Regions from separate parts of the Homo sapiens genome. Here region 2 is linked to region 1. Evidence: promoter capture Hi-C in 16 types of primary human blood cells and fetal thymus (Javierre and others, 2016). All regions are on one chromosome and are shown on one strand. The core of a region is centred on a gene start or on the middle of the fragment in contact, and the rest is flanking DNA. Distances in the headings are between cores, read along the strand shown. Region 1 holds the start of CNPY2 (canopy FGF signaling regulator 2). Region 2 holds the start of BLOC1S1 (biogenesis of lysosomal organelles complex 1 subunit 1).

Region 1 (4,436 bases), core at 1,008-3,507:
TGAGTAGCTGGGACTACAGGCACCCACCACCACGCCCGGCTAATTTTTTGTATTTTTAGTAGAGACGGGGTTTCACCATGTTAGCCAGGATGGTTTCGATCTCCTGACCTTGTGATCTGCCCACCTCAGCCTCCCAAAGTGCTGGCATTACGGGCGTGAGCCACCGCGCCCGGCCTTTTTTTTTTTTCAAGACAGAGTTTTGTTCTTGTCAACCAGACTGGAGTGCAGTGGTGCGATCTTGGCTCACTGCAACCTCTGCCTCCTGGGTTCAAGTGATTCTCCTGCCTCAGCCTCCTGAGTAGCTGGGACTATAGGCATGAGCCACCACGCCTGGCTACTTTTTTGTATTTTTAGTAGAGACGGAGTTTCACCATGTTGGCCAGGCTGGTCTCGAACTTCTAACCTCAGGTGATCCGCCTGCCTTGGCCTCCCAAAGTGCTGGGTTTTGGTTTTTTTTTGAGACAGGGTCTTGCTGTGTTTCCCAGGCTGGAGTGCAGTGGCACAATCACGGCTTACTGCAGCCTCGACCTCCTGGGCTCAAGTGATCCTCCCACCTCAGCCTTCCAAGCAGCTGTCACTACAGGCACATGCCACCATGCACTGCTAACTTTTGCATTTTTTTGTAGAGTTGGTGTTTTGCCATGATGCCCAGGCTAGCACTGTAATCTTAACACTGCCTTATATATTGCTTATTAGATACACCTTTGTGTACATGTGTGTTGTTTTCGATTAAAATTTCCTAATTATGAGGATAAGACCTTTTATTCTTATTTCTGTTTTTTCATTTTTTATTTTTAGCTCCGACTCAGATTTTGAACGGATGTTTGCATGTATACCACAGTGCTACATTAAAAACCAGTCATGTGGATGTGGAGAAGGGTGCTGATCAGGACTCCCTGTTTGCTAACAAATTCTACAGCAGAAACAAAGTATTAAGGTTTGCAGCCAGGAAGCAAGTGCATGGGGAATAAGCCTGCAGCTTCTTCCAAATGAGACAGAGCCAAATCTTTTTTCTGAGTCTGTTTTCTTCATTTCTATTAAACCAAGGTCCTTTTTAAGCAGTCGAATTTCATCCAAAGCCAGAGTGAGCTACTTTGTTTGGGGGAACAGTAACAGTTACCTCCACCACTGACTGGCTGCCATCTGGATTGATCCGGAAAGATCCCATCTGAATGGTCTTCTTGGGGTCCACCTGGGCAATTTCCCATTCTAGTTCATCCACCAGAGCCCTGCATGCTGGTGGAAGAGGAGAGAATGAGAGCAGGGGACAGGGTAGGGGGTAGGGTGTGAGGAGAATGGGATCAACCCAGGATTTCCATTCATCCTTCTCCCAGGCCTTGGATCTCATGCCCTCCCAAGGCTCTGCTTCCTCCACTTCTTTTTCCCGTTGTGCCTTTACCTCCACAGTGGAGATCCTGGCTCCTCCGAGCCCAGGCGGTTCCCAGCAGGGCCCCCAGAAGCAGGGCCAGCCAACCCCAGCCTTTCATCTTTAGCGTAATGGGGTCGCTCCACCTGGGTTTGAGTGGGAATAAAACATAAGTGTGAGGAGCCGACTCCATTTTTCCCTGACCCCCCCAATCCTCACCCCAAGGCTTTCAAAGGCCTCATTGTGACTCTGGCTCTACTTTCCAGGAAATGGCCGGGACACAAAGGGGCTTCTCTGTTCCAGCGCTTGAGGGCTCTGATTCCCCCAGGGTGGTGGGTGGGAGCGCGAGCTCAGGACTTGCGGCTCAGCCCCAGACTCTACGTGGATAGGTGAGGCCCTAAGTGTTGGTACTTTAGCACTGCATGCCTAGGGTTCACGGGGCTTTGTGGCAGCTACAGGAGGTAAGTTGGCGATTACGTGAGGACTACAGGCACTAGGGAACTGCCGGCAGGGAGCCCTCAGTCAGGCCAGGAGGCCAGCGAGGAGAGCAATAACTAGGGCCCATTTGGATCCTGCACCGAAGATTCCTGCGTCCCCACCTCCAGCCCGTAAGTGATTACCCGTACGGACACCAGCCCCCTTTCTAAGGACTCCGCCATTGCTTTCGCTTCAGTCCATCCCCAACCCTCAGCGCCCAGCGCCTCGCCGCCCGCATCCGTCCCACCTCTGCTCCCAGGGCCGCCGCCGTGGCCCAAGCGCTGGAAGACCGCTGGACTCTCACTTTGGCCCCAGTGGCTCCCGAAACTACACCTGGCTGCAGGGAGCAGGGCTGTCCGGGATTCTCCAGAGCGCTTCGCCGCCTGCCACACACGGGGTGTCCCGGCGACCGCCTGACCCAGCTCCCCTGACGCTAACTGGTACCTAAGCGGGACTCCAGCGTGCTGCGGTGCGAGCCCCAATCAGACACCGACCCCAAACCCGCCCCTCCAAACTCTCGCGCGAACAGGCAGCTTAGGAGAGGCTCCCGAACAGCAAGGACCCCGGTCAATCGCCGAAGGACCCAGACTTGCGTGGCGAACAGATCCACGTGACCACCAGGGGTCAGCCGTAGAATAGGAGTGGCCTTAAGCGACGACAGAGTCCGGGCGTGCTGTATGGGAGCGGCTAGTCGTGCGCGTGAGCCAGCCCAGGTGGGCTAGGACCTTCAAAACGGTGCGCTGCCGGCCAGCGAGCAGTCCAGGTTTCAATACACAGGAAACTACATCTCCCAGGAAGCACCGCAGCACCGGACCCATCTTTGTGAGCAACTACAAGTCTCAAGCTATCCTGGGACCTGTAGTTTGTCGGCTTACACAATTAACGGAAACCATACTGTACATCTTCAGTCTGACTTAGGGTACTGGGCAGCTATAGCAAAGACCCAGCATTGCCCAGAAAAGGCATAAATTATACCTTTTTCCCCTTTTTTTGAGACGGAGTCTCGCCCTATCGCCCAGGCTGGCATACAGTGGCGTGATCTCGGCTCACTGCAACCTCCGCCTCCCGGGTTGAAGCAATTTTCTGCCTCAGCTAGGGTTACAGTCGCCATCCACCACTCCCAGCTAATTTTTGTATTTTTAGTAGAGACGGGGTTTCACCATCTTGGTCAGGCTGGTCTTTAACTCCTGACCTCGTGTTCCACCCACCTCTGCCTCCCAAAGTGCTAGGATTACAGAAGTGAGCCACCGCGCCCGGCCTAATTATACCCTTTCATATCCATAACTTTGGATTCCGGACCTTTACCTTCAAAGGAAGGAGAGGAAGACTGAAGCCAGAGAACCCACACTAGCAGTTCTCTAATGAGATAAATAACAAACGATATTTTATTTTTATTTTATAAAACATGCAGTTTACAACAAATTTTTAAAAAATGGAACAAAACTTGGGACAGGCAAGTGGGATGGAAGACAGATGCTTCTCAGCCATCAGCAGGAATAAATGAAGCCGGCAGCCAAGCTTTGTCCAGGATCCAAAGGCCCTTTTGGCAATGGTATTGGCAACACTGGTTTGCTTGGGCCACCAACACTCTACTTGCTGGCCCCTCCAGGTATCCCTGAAGCAGTTGGTGACTTGTGCTAAGTCTTGAACTACTGTGGTATCCTCTGTCACTGTCCAGGACTTCAATCCCTAGCCAGCTAGGAACTTACAGTTATGGTTCCAGGAGCTTCTCTGCCTGGATATTAGTCACCCAGGATATTAAGAATACCAATTACTTTCCATCTGGGTCAATTCTAGACTCCATGTCTGTACCACTGTTTTGCAAAGAATGAAGAAGGAATGAATCTGGCTCCTAGAACCTTTGCAACAATTCTGCTGTGTTCCAGTTCAATTAATAGCACCATCTGTGACCCTAGACCCTGAGCACGTCCAGTACTGGAAGTGGACAAGGTATAGCCAACTTAGGAAGCCATCTCCCAGTTCTGGGGCTATAGAACAGTAAAGGGAGAGGGCCGTGGTTCTTTGGGAAGGGTAGTCAGAGCGCCAGCACTGAGGAGAAGACAGCTGCATCTGTCAGAGACAAAACCAAAAGCATGATTCAAGCTGAGTGGAGAAAAAGCATCTTCTCATACTTCCTATGAAGGAAAAATGCAAGAGAAAAAAGGGCATGGACCTTCCCTGAACATTTTAGACTTGGGCAAGAGGAAGTTATAGTTAATGGAGAGTTTCGATAAAATGTATTTTACTGAATGTTAGGAGGATGAAGTGCTTTGTAAACTGTTAAGTGCTATTCTCCATATGTGCAATCAAAATCCACCCAATTGGGGGCGCTCAGGCTCATGCCTGTAATCCCAGCACTTTGTGAGCCCAAGGTGGGTGGATCGCTTGAGCCCAGGAGTTTAAGACCAGCCTGGGCAACATGGCAAAATCCTGTTTCTACAAAAAGTACAAAAATTAGCTGGGTGTGGTGGTGTGTGCCTGTTGTCCCAGGTACTTGGGAGGCTGAGGTGGGAGAATCACTTGAGCCCAGGAAGTCGAGGCTGCAGTGAGCTGTAATCACGCTACTGCACTTCAGCCTGGGTGACAGAGTGAG
Region 2 (2,588 bases), core at 1-2,500, 600 kb before region 1:
ACATATATATAGTGATGTTTGGTCTTCACTCCTTAGATTCTATTTAATTAGTCTGGAATCAAGGCTTTTTTTTTTTTTTTTTTGAGACAGAGTCCCACTCTGTCGCCCAGGCTGGAGTTCAGTGGCGTGATCTCGGCTCACTGCAACCTCTGCCTCCCAGGTTCAAGCGATTCTCCTGCCTCAGGCTCCTGAGTAGCTGGGATTACAGGCTTGTGCCACTACGCCTGGCTAAATTTTGTATTTTTAGTAGATACAAGGTTTCACCATGTTGGTCAGCCTGGTCTCGAACTCCTGACCTCGTGATCCGCCCGCCTCGGCCTCCCAAAGTGCTGGGATTACGGGCGTGAGCCACCGCACCCGGCTAATCACGGCATTTTTATAAGCCTTGTGATTTCTGTGATTCTAATGTTTAGATTCTAATGCTTAGCCAGGGTTGAGAACCACCGATTTAATCCAATCCCTTCTCCTAGTTTTACTAAAGAGAAAACTATAACCTAGAATGGTGAGCAACTTGCCCAAAGTCACCCAACATGTTAGTGCAAGGTGCACCGAGAGAGATTGTACCAGTAGCAAGAATATGCTCATGATGTTTATAATTGTTCTCGCTGGAGTTAATCCCGGAAGCATTTCTTTTTAGTTCACAGAGGCCTTATATAAATTACTTTTTACTTTGGCACAGCACTTACGCTTCTGCTAACACTGAAATGGGTTCGCATTCCTGACCACAAAAGGACAGAGATGAAATTCTACATTCACACAGCCCGCCAAGTTAGCCAAGCTCCCTAGGAGGCTGTCTGAAGTGCCTAAAATGCTTCTCTACAATGATCACCCAGAGCTGAGAGACTTCAGTGGGGTAGTGAGAAGAAAGAGGGTTGGGAGAGACAGGAAAGCATCCTCTCCTTGAGGGAAGGAACTGGGAATCAACTGAGAACCAGCTAGCACTGCCAGGAGGTGAGGAGAGGGAAGGAGAATAATTTAAATGAGGCCAGGGAGCTTCTGCTCCCTCAATTAAACGGTGATAGACGGCCTGACACCACCAGCCCTCGAAGCCTGAGATCCACAGGAAATGTTAAAAACTGGCTTGGCAATATAAGTATTAGAAAATACTTCTTCCAACACTCACCAAAAACTAAGCTCCCAATAAAGAACACTTCACCTGCCCTCCGCAACCCTCTACCTCTCTTCCCCGCCAAGATCTTCACCCAAGGTCTCAAGAGGGCGGTTCCCAACCTCACGTGACACAGCGGTCACGTGACATGGCCCCGGGGAGCCGAGGTGAGCGTTCCAGCTTCCGGAGCCGGAGGGGGCCCGGCGTACCCAGCCCCCAGCCCGACGTGACCATGCTGTCCCGCCTCCTAAAAGAACACCAGGCCAAGCAGAATGAACGCAAGGAGCTGCAGGGTGAGCCAAATATCCTGTCGGCCGTTTTCTCTTCGGCCGCGGCCTAGCTTCAGCCCGGAGCCTGGATCTCGAGTAACTAACCATATCCAGGGAAAGACGCCAGCTAGCGGGCAACGGGCATGGGGGAGAGGGAATTTCAGAGAGGCTTTTTTTGAAACTCCTTTCCCTTGCCAACTGGCTCCGGTCCCTTGGGCAATACTCCGGTCCCCTCGGCAACGCCCCCAATCCCCGACCTGCCGCACCTTAGCCCCGCCCCTGCCCCGGAGCGCCCTGCCTATTGGCCCTGGGAGCCTCTCGTCCTGGCGGCGGGAAGGAGCGACTCTGGAGGGAGGAGGGTGTGGGGAACCCCCCAGAGATGGGCTTCTTGGAGGCCTGAAACCACCGGAACGGAGGTGGGGCACTTGTTTCCTGAGTCCGGGCTGGAAATCTCGGAGTTACCGATTCTGCGGCCGAGTAGTGGAGAAAGAGTGCCTGGGAGTCAGGAGTCCTGGGCGCTGCCGCTGACTTCCTGGCGTCCCTGAGTGAGTCCATTTCCCTCCCAGGGTACCAGTTTCCTCATCTCTAAAATGAAAGAGGTTGCGCTATGTTTTGCAAGGTCCTTTTCAGCTCCGGCATTCAGAGATTAGTTAAGAAATTTCGGCAACTAGCAGAATAGTAATGGATGGGTAGGGAACCTTTAACACTACCCCTCAAAAAACCAAGTCTCCCCTCCAATTCCTTTTCCCCCTCTCCCCAGAAAAGAGGAGGCGAGAGGCTATCACTGCAGCGACCTGCCTGACAGAAGCTTTGGTGGATCACCTCAATGTGGGGTATGGACCTCTTATCAACATCAGTTTCCTCCTTCCCCACCCCGCCCAAGTTTAGGCACTGGCCAGTCTGGCCCTCAAATAGCTGTTGAAGGGGTGGGATGTTCCACTAATTCCCCTATCCTACCCCGCCCCTCCCAGCTCTTTGTAGAGCAACTTGAGTCAACTCTGAGTCCTAGCACTGGGCAAGGGAGGAACAGCTGCCGTGGTTAGAGAAGCAGCCAGATTTCCCCTTCCCCACGTTAACTTCCCTGGCATTTACAACTTGATGCCATCTGCCCACCTCCCTTCACCCTTCCAAGTCCAGCTGTCACTTCAGCAGGAGGGAGAGCACCCTCCTTCATTACAGCTTACCACCCTCTCCTCTGCCTCCCACCCTCT

Evidence for each region. Contacts are between HindIII fragments. The CHiCAGO score rates a contact against its expected background, and 5 or more counts as called.
Region 2: the fragment with the promoter of BLOC1S1 here is called in contact with the fragment with the promoter of CNPY2 in region 1 in 3 of 17 cell types (naive CD8 T cells, non-activated CD4 T cells and total CD8 T cells); the score reaches 8.1 in naive CD8 T cells.

The regions. Positions count from the first base shown.
Region 1 is chr12:56,313,731-56,318,166 of GRCh38, forward strand. It overlaps CNPY2 (canopy FGF signaling regulator 2), which reads right to left and starts at 2,258. Exons shown (of 6, transcript NM_014255.7): 1 at 2,091-2,258; 2 at 1,400-1,512; 3 at 1,121-1,236. The coding sequence starts at 1,487. PAN2 (poly(A) specific ribonuclease subunit PAN2) reads right to left here. Exons shown (of 26, transcript NM_014871.6): 26 at 3,206-3,913. The coding sequence ends at 3,879. CNPY2-AS1 (CNPY2 antisense RNA 1) reads left to right here. Exons shown (of 2, transcript XR_002957416.2): 2 at 799-1,078. RefSeq lists enhancers at 2,243-2,831, 2,332-2,381, 2,462-2,611. The HindIII fragment of the contact is 5,570 bases long and covers 1-3,359 here.
Region 2 is chr12:55,714,796-55,717,383 of GRCh38, forward strand. BLOC1S1 (biogenesis of lysosomal organelles complex 1 subunit 1) reads left to right here and starts at 1,251. Exons shown (of 4, transcript NM_001487.4): 1 at 1,251-1,401; 2 at 2,138-2,210. The coding sequence starts at 1,257. It overlaps BLOC1S1-RDH5 (BLOC1S1-RDH5 readthrough), which reads left to right and starts at 1,239. Exons shown (of 6, transcript NR_037658.1): 1 at 1,239-1,401; 2 at 2,138-2,210. It also overlaps a transcript of ITGA7 not described here. RefSeq lists enhancers at 1,296-1,435, 1,716-1,955. The HindIII fragment of the contact is 4,864 bases long and covers 1-2,183 here.